Linked DNA regions of Homo sapiens: all the other regions are linked to region 1. Evidence: promoter capture Hi-C in 16 types of primary human blood cells and fetal thymus (Javierre and others, 2016). All regions are on one chromosome and are shown on one strand. Each heading gives the region's core, a stretch centred on a gene start or on the middle of the fragment in contact. The rest is flanking DNA. Distances are from core to core; before and after follow the strand shown. Region 1 holds the start of SEL1L3 (SEL1L family member 3). Region 2 overlaps STIM2 (stromal interaction molecule 2). Region 3 overlaps STIM2 (stromal interaction molecule 2).

Region 1 (3,228 bases), core at 107-2,606:
TTTTTTTTTTTTTTTTGGCATTCTGTGAATTTCCTATTACATCAGTTTCATGATTCAGCATTTTCCATTTCATTTATTTACAGTAATATATGGCGAGATAACCCAAGGTTTCTGCAGGATTGTGGAACATAAGTTACTCTGGGCAGGAAGGGTGTCGCCTTCTGTAAATTTACTATTGTTTAGGAGAACTCAAAACAGAAGCAAGCAAGCCCTCAAAGGAACTGAGAAAATTTCTCCCCACTTTGTTCTGAGGGGTCTCAGCTACTCTGGTATTTAAAATAAATGGGTTTTGAAAAATAGGTTACTGCCCTTTAGTTGATGACTAAAACAGAAGCCAAGAAGTGTGCAAATTGCAAACTGACATGCATGAGCCAAACATATTCTCTGAAATGACAATGTTCAAGACGCAGCTAAAGTCACCACTCTGGCGGTAAGCGTGTTACAGAGAACTAGATTTCTTTCCGGCATCCGCAACTTGGCTGGAGTGACCAAGGAGGAGTTGAAGAGCGCTGGAGATGCGAGGTGCGTTGGCAGAAAACTGTCCGGGCCGGGAGGACCCGGTGGAAACTAAAAGGAGGGTCGACGCGGGTGGCGGGCGCCGAGAGTAAGAGGCGAAGTTGGGCACGGGAAGGAAAGGAGCTGCGAGAAGATTGAGAGGGAAGCCCAGGAGGGGTGGGGGGTTGGGGGGTGCTGGAGACTGCGCGCGGCGGGGCGGGGAGCGAACTCCGGGCGGCGAGGCTCCCGGGTGGAGTCGAGGACAAGAAGGGGTCTCGAGGGTAACCCGACCCGGGTCTAGAGAGAGTCCAGGAGGGAAAGGAATGAGCACGAGCGAGAGAGCAGCTTGGCAAGTCCGGTCCAAGCGCCCCTCTCCACGCCCGGGGTACCTATCCCAGGTGCCGGGAACGCCCGGGGCGCAGCGACGAGGAAGAGAGAAAACTAGCAGCGGCGTCCCCGCCCCGCGTGGCGGGTGTCCCCGGCCGCCCCCACCCGCGTCCCCGGGGCCCCGCGCGGAGGGGAAGACCCGGGCAGGGTCCGGCGCTCACCAGGTAGCAGAGCAGGAGCAGCGCGCAGGCAGAGCGGCCGCCGAGGCCCTGGGGGACGCCGCCACTCGGGACCATGGCTGCGGCCCGGGGGCCGACCGCGAGCGGCGGGGGTTGCTGCTGCTGCTGCCGCGGCCACCCGAGCCCCGCGCCGCGCCGCTGCATGGCGAGGCCGCCCGGATCCGGGCCGGAACAGGTCACCTGGTGCAGGGACCGGCCCCCGCCCGAGGCGCCACCTTCCCGCCCGCCCCCGGCCGGGCCGGCCGCCGCGCGCGGGGCCACCTGCCGCCACCTCCGGACCCGCCGCCGCCGCCACTGCCGCTCCCGCCGTCGCCGCCCCCGCAGCCCCAGCCGAGCGCCGGCTCCTCCCCGCCTCCCCGTCCCCGTCCCCTCCCTCCCCTCTGCCTCCCTGCCCAGCCCTCCTCCCGGCCGCTCCCTCTGGCCCCCGGGCTTCCACCCCTCGGAGCAGCGGGCGCCCACGCAGGTGGGCACCGACCCGGGTCCCGCCCCTTGGCCGCCGCCACCCCCCGCCCGGGTCGCTGGGCCCCGGCGCACCCCCCTTTCCCTTTCTCTCTGCTCCTCCCCCGCCCCCCTTCCGCGCTCCTGCTCTCTGCGATCCCCCTCCTCTCCCTCCGGCTCCCTCTTCCTTCTCCCCTCGCGCTCCCAAACCCCCTCTCTTTTTCACTTTCTCCTTTTCCTCCCTTTCCTCTTTCTCCCTTCCCATCCTCTTCCTCGCTTCCGCATTCTTCCTCTCCCACCCACCCCTTTTGCGGGTCGCACAGACCAGTTCCCGCCCGTGCAATGGGTTTTTGTCTGGTTGCTTTTTTGGCCGGGGCGCCATTCCCGCAGGGCGCAGGGCGAGTGTGCCCCCTGGAGTTGTGCCGCGCAGCTGCCCGGCTCCCAGGCCTTCAGGATGGATTTTGACCCCTGCCAACCTCCACCTGTCCACCTGCGGGGTTGGGACTGCCTCCTTGCTGGCATGTTTGCAGCCGGGCTGCGCCCCACCCTGCCGGCTGGTTCGCGGCACGTTCTGGATGTTTCCCGAGGGTTTTGTGTGGTGCCGCCGCCACCGCCACCACTGCGCTCTTTGTTTTAATTGTCCAGAGTATTGGCACCCAGGACGGGTTTGTATTTGATTTGCATCCCTGTGCTCCGGCTTCCACTTTGGACTGAGAAAAAAATGAATTAATTAGGTCAATACAGTAATACTGGAGCCCCAAATGAAAGGGGTGAGGCCCTGGAAGTGCGCAAACAGCTTTTTAAAAAACCAGGACACATCCTCGGCCTTGGGGACGCAGGTTGAGACTGGCTGCTCTCCGACCCGGGTTCTGCGGCCTGGCGGGGAGGGGCCTCCGGCCGGCGGGACCACCAGCTCGCCGCCGGCCTTGGCTTTCAGGGAAGCGCTTGGCTGTGTCTAGCGGCTCCGACAACTATCTGGGCCCGCAGCTGCTGCTCTGAAACAGTTAATCCACCTTCCAAAGTTCGCAGAAGCTTCCCTTTAGCACTGGTAGATTTGTGCGGATTGGAACTAATAATAGCCTGGGAGCCTGAGAGGCCACAGCCCTTTCCCTGTGCCACGAGCATAGGTCAAGTCACAACAGACGTCGGGGAGAGGCTGGTGGTGAGACGGGGTGCCCGGGATGGTTTGACGGGCGTGGACGCGCCCTCAGCTGCTTCAGTACAGGCCTGGCCACACCAGGCATGGTGGCTCCTCAGCTGTCGTCCACTTTTTTTTAGGTCACCTAAGAGCTGTGGCCTTGTGTGAGTTCCCTGGCCTTATTCCACCGGTTCTCAAACTTCAGAATTACCTGGAGGGATTGTTAAAACACAGATTCCTGGACTTCAGCCCTAGAATTTCTGACTCAGTTGGTCCTGGGAGGGACTTGAGAATGTACCTTTCTAACAAGCTCCTGGGTGATGTTAACGCGCTGGTTCAAACAGCCCTCCTCCATTTCCAGAACTATTGGCTTTTAGGGAACTGGGCTCCTGCTCCTCCCAGCCAGCTGCCACCACATTAAAGCATTTTGGGGGTTTTGACAGATGCTCCCACTATCTCTGTTCCACTTCTGCAGAAACAAAGCACTTAACATTCTTCTGTGTGACGTGGAAAACATTTATTCTATCGAGTGTCCAAGGGAACAAAAGATTTGGTGGCTTTGTCCCAGATCCTGTCTATATCTTTTCCATC
Region 2 (3,617 bases), core at 14-2,513, 1.0 Mb after region 1:
TAAAACTAACTGCTAATAATATGGATAATAAGCCATTTTTTGACATTTACTGGAGTTTGGACTTCACCTTGTTAAGATCTACCTAGGAATTTACTTCTGAATTGATCAGATTTTATTAACTAAATAATTATTAAGTACAAGCAGCATAACACAAAAGAGAAGTGGGAAAGAATTAAAAAAAAGAATAAGATGTAGGTGTGACCATTTTGGACTCAGACTAGGTAATAATAGGCACATTTATTAAACTGTTCCTATGTGTTAGTATTGTGCTAAGTGCTTTTTATATTATACATCACTGTTTTTGATTCTGAGACTAATCCTGTTAGATAGCTACTGTTTTTTTTTTTCCTTCTAACTTTTATTTTAGATTCATTTTAGATTCCAACTTTTATTTTAGATTCATATGCAGGTTCATTGCCTGGGTTTATTGCATGATATTGAGATTTTAGTTACCAACGATCTTGTCACCCAGGTACTGAGCATAGTACTCAATAGTTCAATAGTTTTTCAACCCTTACCCCTCCTCTTACCTCCCCCACAAGTAGTCCTCAGTTTTCTATTGTTGCTGTCTTTATCTTCATATAGTAGATTAGGAAACATGCTGGATGATCTTAAGTAACTTGCCCAAGCTCACTTCTAGTAGGTAGCAGAGTTAGAGGTTGACCAGGGTTTCTCTGGTTCCAAAGCTTGGATTCTTAGCTGGTATGTTGTATGCATCCTTATACAAACAACATGCGATGGATTGTGATTAGCACCACAAGGGACTGCAAAGTGTAGGAGAAAGGAAGAGGCTGTTAGAGAGTATTACCTGGAGGAGGGCAGGATTTGAGCTGGACCTTGATGTATAGGTAGGACTTCTTGTGGAGATAAGTGAAAAGGCTTTCTGGGAGGAGGCATATGCAAGAATAGGGGATAAATACTTTTCTTTAGAGTTAAGTATAAGGTATATGTAGAGTAGTGGGGAATGCAAGAAGGAAGAAGATTGGGGCCAAATTATCAAGAGCTTTACAGTCCCCTAGTGTATTCAGTATGTATCAAAATGTCAGCACATTTAAAACTGGGGTACTCGGCTGTATACTGGCAAGAATGAGACATCCAGGACAAATATGGTACCTTTTCTTGGCATATCCATTTTATTAGATTATTTGAGAGATATAAAACTATTTGAAGGTTTCTAAATATGCACGTTAGGGAAAATGTACATATATTTTAATTTTTAAGGTAAAAGGCATTTTGAACTTTCAGAGTGTTTTGTTAATAAACTCTTGAAGTTGCAAATCTATATCCTGTCATTAGGAGGTGAGAGGCATTGTGGTTTTTGAAGATGGGGGTGACATGTCCTTTGTGTTTGAGAAAGCTAATTCTGGGTGGATGGCAATGAGGAGATAACAGAGATAAGGATATCAGTTAGGAAACTATTTAGAAGGAGAGGTCTTGAGAATTCTAATTATGGAGTGGCTATGAAAATGTTTAGATGAAATTTTATAAAATCGACTTTATTCTTAGCTTAGGAATCTGGCTATTTATATGAAGTTTAAGATATAAAAATTACCTTTAGCATTAAGCATACAGAATTTATAGAATGATTTAAATTAGTATAAGCCCTTGAAAAATCCAAGAAGAAACACACTATTTGTGATAGAGAATCTTCTTTATTTCAAATGTGCCTATTTCTTAATATAAAGATTAGTTTTTAAAAAAATATAATCGGGCTTATGTGATGATTTACAAAGTTGTCGACAGAAAAACAGTTGCAAATGTATTTGCCAGTTGTTTGACAAATAAAACCAAACAACTTTTGATATCCAAAGACAATATATTTGCCATAAAATGCTTATATAAAGCTTTTAGAATTCCATGTATAAAAAGGATAAGTGTTTCCAGATTAAACTAAAGTTATAAGTCAAGAGTCGAAGTCTCTCCGACCCCTTAGCTATGAATAACAATATTTCAGACTACTGGCATATTACTTGTTTCAATATTAACTCCTAAATTTCATTGTTGTGTGAATTTCAAGCTTAATCTATAGATGATGATTTCTAATGCCAAATCTAAAAGGTTTGTTCTGTTCTTTAGCTATCTAGATCTTTATATTAGTATACATTGGATATTCAGTCTTTCTTGACACTGTCTAATTCTACCTTCTGTAACTGTTTTCCTTGACTGGTTTCATTGTTGCTGATTTTAAGGGTGGTTCCCTCTTAAGTCTCTGTTCTCAGCCTCCTCTTCCTCTAGTCTAGCTGAACATTTCCTCCTCAGAGAACTTCATTACTAGGAAAGTTCTAAATTGGGGGTAGGGAACCCCAGGCCAATGATTGATTTGATTTTTGGCTTTATTTCCTTTGGCCCTTGGTGTGCTATAGCACAAGCATCATGGCTGCAGTCCCGAGAGTAATTTCCTTTCTACTAGGCTTTGTCAGCCATATCCTTTAAAGTGAAACAATTTCAGGATTAAGGCTAGGAGCAGTTGCAGAATGTTTAATAATGTCTATTCAGTGTTTTCATAAGATAGTGGTAACTCCCCTCCAGTACACACAGGCTGATTGGAGCCACAGAGCCTGGCAAGCGCAGTTTACTTGGACTAACATTCATCTCAGAGCCCAAGTACCTGTATCTGTCCAAGTGTTTCTTTTTGCGTATGGATTTGTTTTTTTGTGTGCTTATGGATCTTGACCTCTGTGTAACTTTTTTCTCTAGTCATTTTCATTTTCTCTACCTCTTTTTGATCTTCCTAAACTTGACATTATATGGAACTGAAACACCTCAAAAACTGTTTTGTTTAATTAAGTGCTGGGATTTTAATTTAAAAAATGCTTGAAATGAATATCTCATTTATGTGATTACAGAATACTAAACAGCCTTATCATAAGCAGCCTCATCAAAACCCCCTAGGGTAGTGAAAGTGATTTGTAGTTTCTTACAATATTCTCAATAAGTAAAAAGGCTTTTTAAACCCTTGTTTGAAGTTTTTGTCTCCTACTCAGCACACTGCAAGTTGCACAGGCCCATGTTTTCTATTACTGTCTTTTTTTTCTTTTTTAAAAAATCTGATGTTGGATAACTAGATAATCTTAATCCCCCTTCTTTATTCCTATTGTCCAGCAATACATCTCTAACGTTTTCATTAATGACGTGTATGTAATTTTTGCTCTGTTTCCCTGATGCCTTGAACCATTGTCATGTTTAGCTCTTATTTCTGCTTTGCCACACATATTCAGACTGTATTAATCCTCGCCGTTTCTTTCTTCTGGGTACCACATTAAGAAAGAAAAGCTAAAGTGCAATTATAGGTACCCCTGGCTATTTTTGAATTTGCATTTGTAACTATACCCTCTGATGTTTATTCCGTGTTTGTTTGGGGTCGTACGCTGTAGCTTATGCCTGTAATCCCAGCACTTTTCGAGGCCAAGATGGGCAGATCACTTGAGCCCAGGACTTCGAGACCAGTCTGGGCAACACGGTGAAATCCCATCTCCTCAAAAAATACAAAAAAATTAGCTGGGCGTGATGATGTGCGCCTGTATTCCTGGCTACTCAGGAGGCTGAAATGGGAGAATCACCTGAGCCTGGGGGAAGTTAAGTCTGCAGCAAGCCCTGATCAGGCCACTGCACTCTGG
Region 3 (3,557 bases), core at 1-2,500, 1.0 Mb after region 1:
ATTTAATTCTTAAACCTGTTTGTAATAAAGGTTTAGAAAAGAACCAGAATAGGGCTGGAGTGTGACTTACTGCTTCTACTGCAACTGCTTTAGGAAATTTAAATATAAAGAAAACTAACAGGAAATTGTGTCGTTGTATAGGCAGGGTAATGTACAAGCTATTTTAAGAAGGGGCTCTTTGCATTTCAGTGTTCATCTGTCAGTTGGCTGTAGTAGAAACACCCTGTTTATTTAGCACCATTGGGGGATTAAGTATCCCACATGAGTGAACAGCCATTTATTGAGTACTTACGTATATCAGGCAACTGTTCTGAATGCTTCACATGAAATAACTCATTTAGTCCTCACAAGCTTATGGGGTAGATCCGTATCTTATAGGTAATGTAACGGAGACCCAGAGAGGTTAAACACGAGTTCACAGAACTGGCAAGTGGGTGAGACAGAATTCTCACAACAAGATTCACATCCTTAACCAGTACTCTTGCCTCTTGAGTAATTGAACCTTGACTCCTTTGAATTATAAAACTTGCTTTATTTCAAACATTTTGGAGTCAAATTATTTCTAAAACGTGTGACTTATTTCTCTACTTTCTTAATCAGAATGTATTGGGTACAGTTAATGGGTACAATATTAGGGTTAGTACACATGCAAAAACACAGATACTCTTAAGGATTGTTGATTTGTGTTCCACTGTTCATGTTCAACCTTATTTTTCATGGTTTTGAATTGCTGTAATATCTAGTTTTCCAAAAGCTTTTTACTTAAATACAGTATAACAGTACAGGAAAGGGCTCAAATCATCAGTATACAGCTCATTTCAACCATTTTTAACAAAGTGAATACTCACATGTTATTAGCACCCAGATCGAGAAACATAATGTTGCCTTTACCCAGAAGTCCTTCATGTCCTCTTGAAATCAGTATGTGCCTTTGCCTAAGGTTAACCACTGTCCTTACTTTAATACCATAGATTTGCTTCCCTATTTTTGAATGTGAATAAATGGAGTCATCAGCATATGATTGTATCAGCTTATTTACTGGACAGCTGTCATTTTATTTTTTGGTATCTGCTAAGACTGGAAAATAGGGGTATCAAGGCTTGAATTGTAAATCTTGATGGTATGAAGGATCCTCCTTTAACTAAAGCATGTAGGATTTTAATGTGTGATATTTGTGACATAGTTTTCATTTCTGACTATTTTTTCAGGTTTATGTTTTGCCTGGGTGAATTCAGAATGTAACTTTCAGATATACAAATTGTTTACCTTGGTTACCAGGCTATGTAGTTTATAAGAGCAGTAAAACTGAAAATATAGCATTCAGTGCTAGTTGTATTATGAGAATGAAGCCAAATTTAGCACCTCAGGTTATATATATATATATATATATATATATATATATATATATATATATATATATATGTATATGTCTATTCATGTAAATATGCAGTGTTGATTTATCCTAATTACTGAGACATTCCATTATGGCTTATTGAAAATTACATATAAACCTTATTTTAAATCTGATTTTTAGATACTTGAGTTTTAAGAAGCTGATCACCATGCGCCAGTTCCTCTTATTTGACAAACAAGGAAGTTGTGGCTATGTGAGCTCATAATTTGAGGTTCAGTGGAACAGAGGAGAACTGTGACGGGCAGAACATTTACTTTCATATTCTCTGTAAAACCAAATCAGTGAGAAGGATGCAAGGAGAACTAGGACAGTATATGAACTTTTTCCTTCTTAAAGCTTTTTCTGTGTAGGAGCATATTCATATAACTGAGAAGATTGTTTGAAATTTTAGCTTAAGGCTAATATATTATTTCAATATATACTCATTGAACACTTACAGATATTGTTGTAGGTATTGGAGCAATGAAGAAAACGATGAGCTTAATTTCACTGAGGATAAGACAGTTAACAAGTAGACAAATATTTATCAGGAGATGATAAATGCAATGAAGGAAAATAAAATAGGTGAGAAGGTAGAGAATGTTAGGGAAAGTATATGTGTGTTTGCTGTTATTTAAGGTGGTCAGGGAAATCTTCATAGTTGACATTTGACAAGAGAGAAGGGAGAGACAGAGGGATGAGACCCTTCAGGTGGAGAGAATGGCATGTGCATGGGCCCTGATGGATACCATTGTTGGATTTTTGGAGAAACTTCCAGGAGACCACAGGGCTGGTGTAGAGTAAGCAATGGAGAGAGTAATAGATAGATCAGAGAGGTTGTCTGGGCTAGAATGTACAGTCTTGTAGACATCATCTACAAGATGTGAGGACATTGTCATTGTATGTCATGTACTCTGAGATGGGGAGCTACTGCAGGGTTTTTGAGAAGTGTGACATGATTTGATTTATGTTTGGAAATGATCACTTCAGCTCTTTCACTGAAATGACACTCTAGAAGGTCTAGTCTTAGAGCAGGGAGACCAATTAGTAGGCTTTTGTCCGGGGAGAGAAAGTGCTAGAGCTCCCTTGTTAGCTATGGAGGTGGTAATAGGTGGTATAGGTGGAGCTATATGTGGATGCTAAATACAGTGAAAGCCCTTCTGTTCTGTTGTCCTGAAAATCAAGTTCATTGTTATATGAACTTTATTGTGAAGTAAAGACATAAAAGCTTATGCCTTTATAGGATATAATTTAAAGAGCTAGGAAATTGGAACAACCCGTAGTGTTCAACTGCTGAATGTTACAAGATACAATAAGCACCAAACCAAATAATTAAACTTTTTTTTTTTTTTTTTTTTTTTTGCCTCTTGCCTTGTCCGTGATCCCTTTAAAACTTAGAATTTATTTGAGCTTTTTTTCTTTACTGTTTTGTTTGATGTTGCTTTCATTTTCTACTTGGGTTAAGATGTATCTTGCTAATAATCTAAGATCACACCGTGCTGTTACAGAATTACAGACTTTGATTGAACTCAAGGAAGTGGACAAAGCCTAAAGCTCAAACTGTCTGCTAATTACAGGAACTTCTCCGGTGTATCCCTTATAGACTGTCATTCATTAGCTCCTCAGATACTTTGGGTGGTTGGGAACTTATTGCTCCTGAACAACTTTTCCATTAGTAGGCAGTTCTGGTTTGTGAGAAGTTCTTTGTTGCATTAAACTAAAATCTTTCAGTACTTTCTTTGGGTTCTAGATGTATCCTTTGAAGCAAAGAGTGGCTATTTTTTCTCTTAATGTTTTAAAAGACCCTGTATTAGGGTTCTGTACAGAAATAGAACCAGAAGGAATGAATGTATATGTTCATTATTACAAATTAATAATATAATTTTATATAGTGCATATCTGTAATTATATTACCAATTATTTAGTTGCACTTAAAATACTCAAAGATGTAACTTAAAATAATTAATTGTTTTATACATGTATCTACATATCTACATAGATAGACATAGGTAAAACATAGAGACTTATTTCAAGGAATTGGCTGAGGTAATTGAAAAGATCCAAATCCAAATCCAAAATCCATAGGATAGGCTGGCAGATTGGAAACTCTTGGGCAGGCGATGATGCTGCAGTCGTGGGGCAGAATATTTCTTTCTCAGAAAAG

What was found. The method cuts DNA at HindIII sites, captures the fragments that hold promoters and counts their contacts. A CHiCAGO score of 5 or more calls a contact.
Region 2: a fragment that was not itself captured here is called in contact with the fragment with the promoter of SEL1L3 in region 1 in 4 of 17 cell types (activated CD4 T cells, naive CD8 T cells, erythroblasts and 1 more); the score reaches 7.5 in activated CD4 T cells.
Region 3: a fragment that was not itself captured here is called in contact with the fragment with the promoter of SEL1L3 in region 1 in 1 of 17 cell types (total B cells); the score reaches 5.0 in total B cells.

What each region holds. Positions count from the first base shown.
Region 1 is chr4:25,861,632-25,864,859 of GRCh38, forward strand. SEL1L3 (SEL1L family member 3) reads right to left here and starts at 1,357. Exons shown (of 24, transcript NM_015187.5): 1 at 1,044-1,357. The coding sequence starts at 1,205. LOC102723733 (a long non-coding RNA gene) reads left to right here. Exons shown (of 2, transcript XR_427503.5): 1 at 1-522. RefSeq lists silencers at 356-650, 921-1,380, 1,431-1,590. The HindIII fragment of the contact is 3,672 bases long and covers 1-2,529 here.
Region 2 is chr4:26,865,654-26,869,270 of GRCh38, forward strand. The region is part of intron 1 of STIM2 (stromal interaction molecule 2); the gene reads left to right. Among named protein-coding and RNA genes, the nearest start is that of STIM2, 6.6 kb to the left of the region's middle. The HindIII fragment of the contact is 1,158 bases long and covers 685-1,842 here.
Region 3 is chr4:26,884,453-26,888,009 of GRCh38, forward strand. All of the region lies in intron 1 of STIM2 (stromal interaction molecule 2), which reads left to right. Among named protein-coding and RNA genes, the nearest start is that of STIM2, 25 kb to the left of the region's middle. The HindIII fragment of the contact is 996 bases long and covers 753-1,748 here.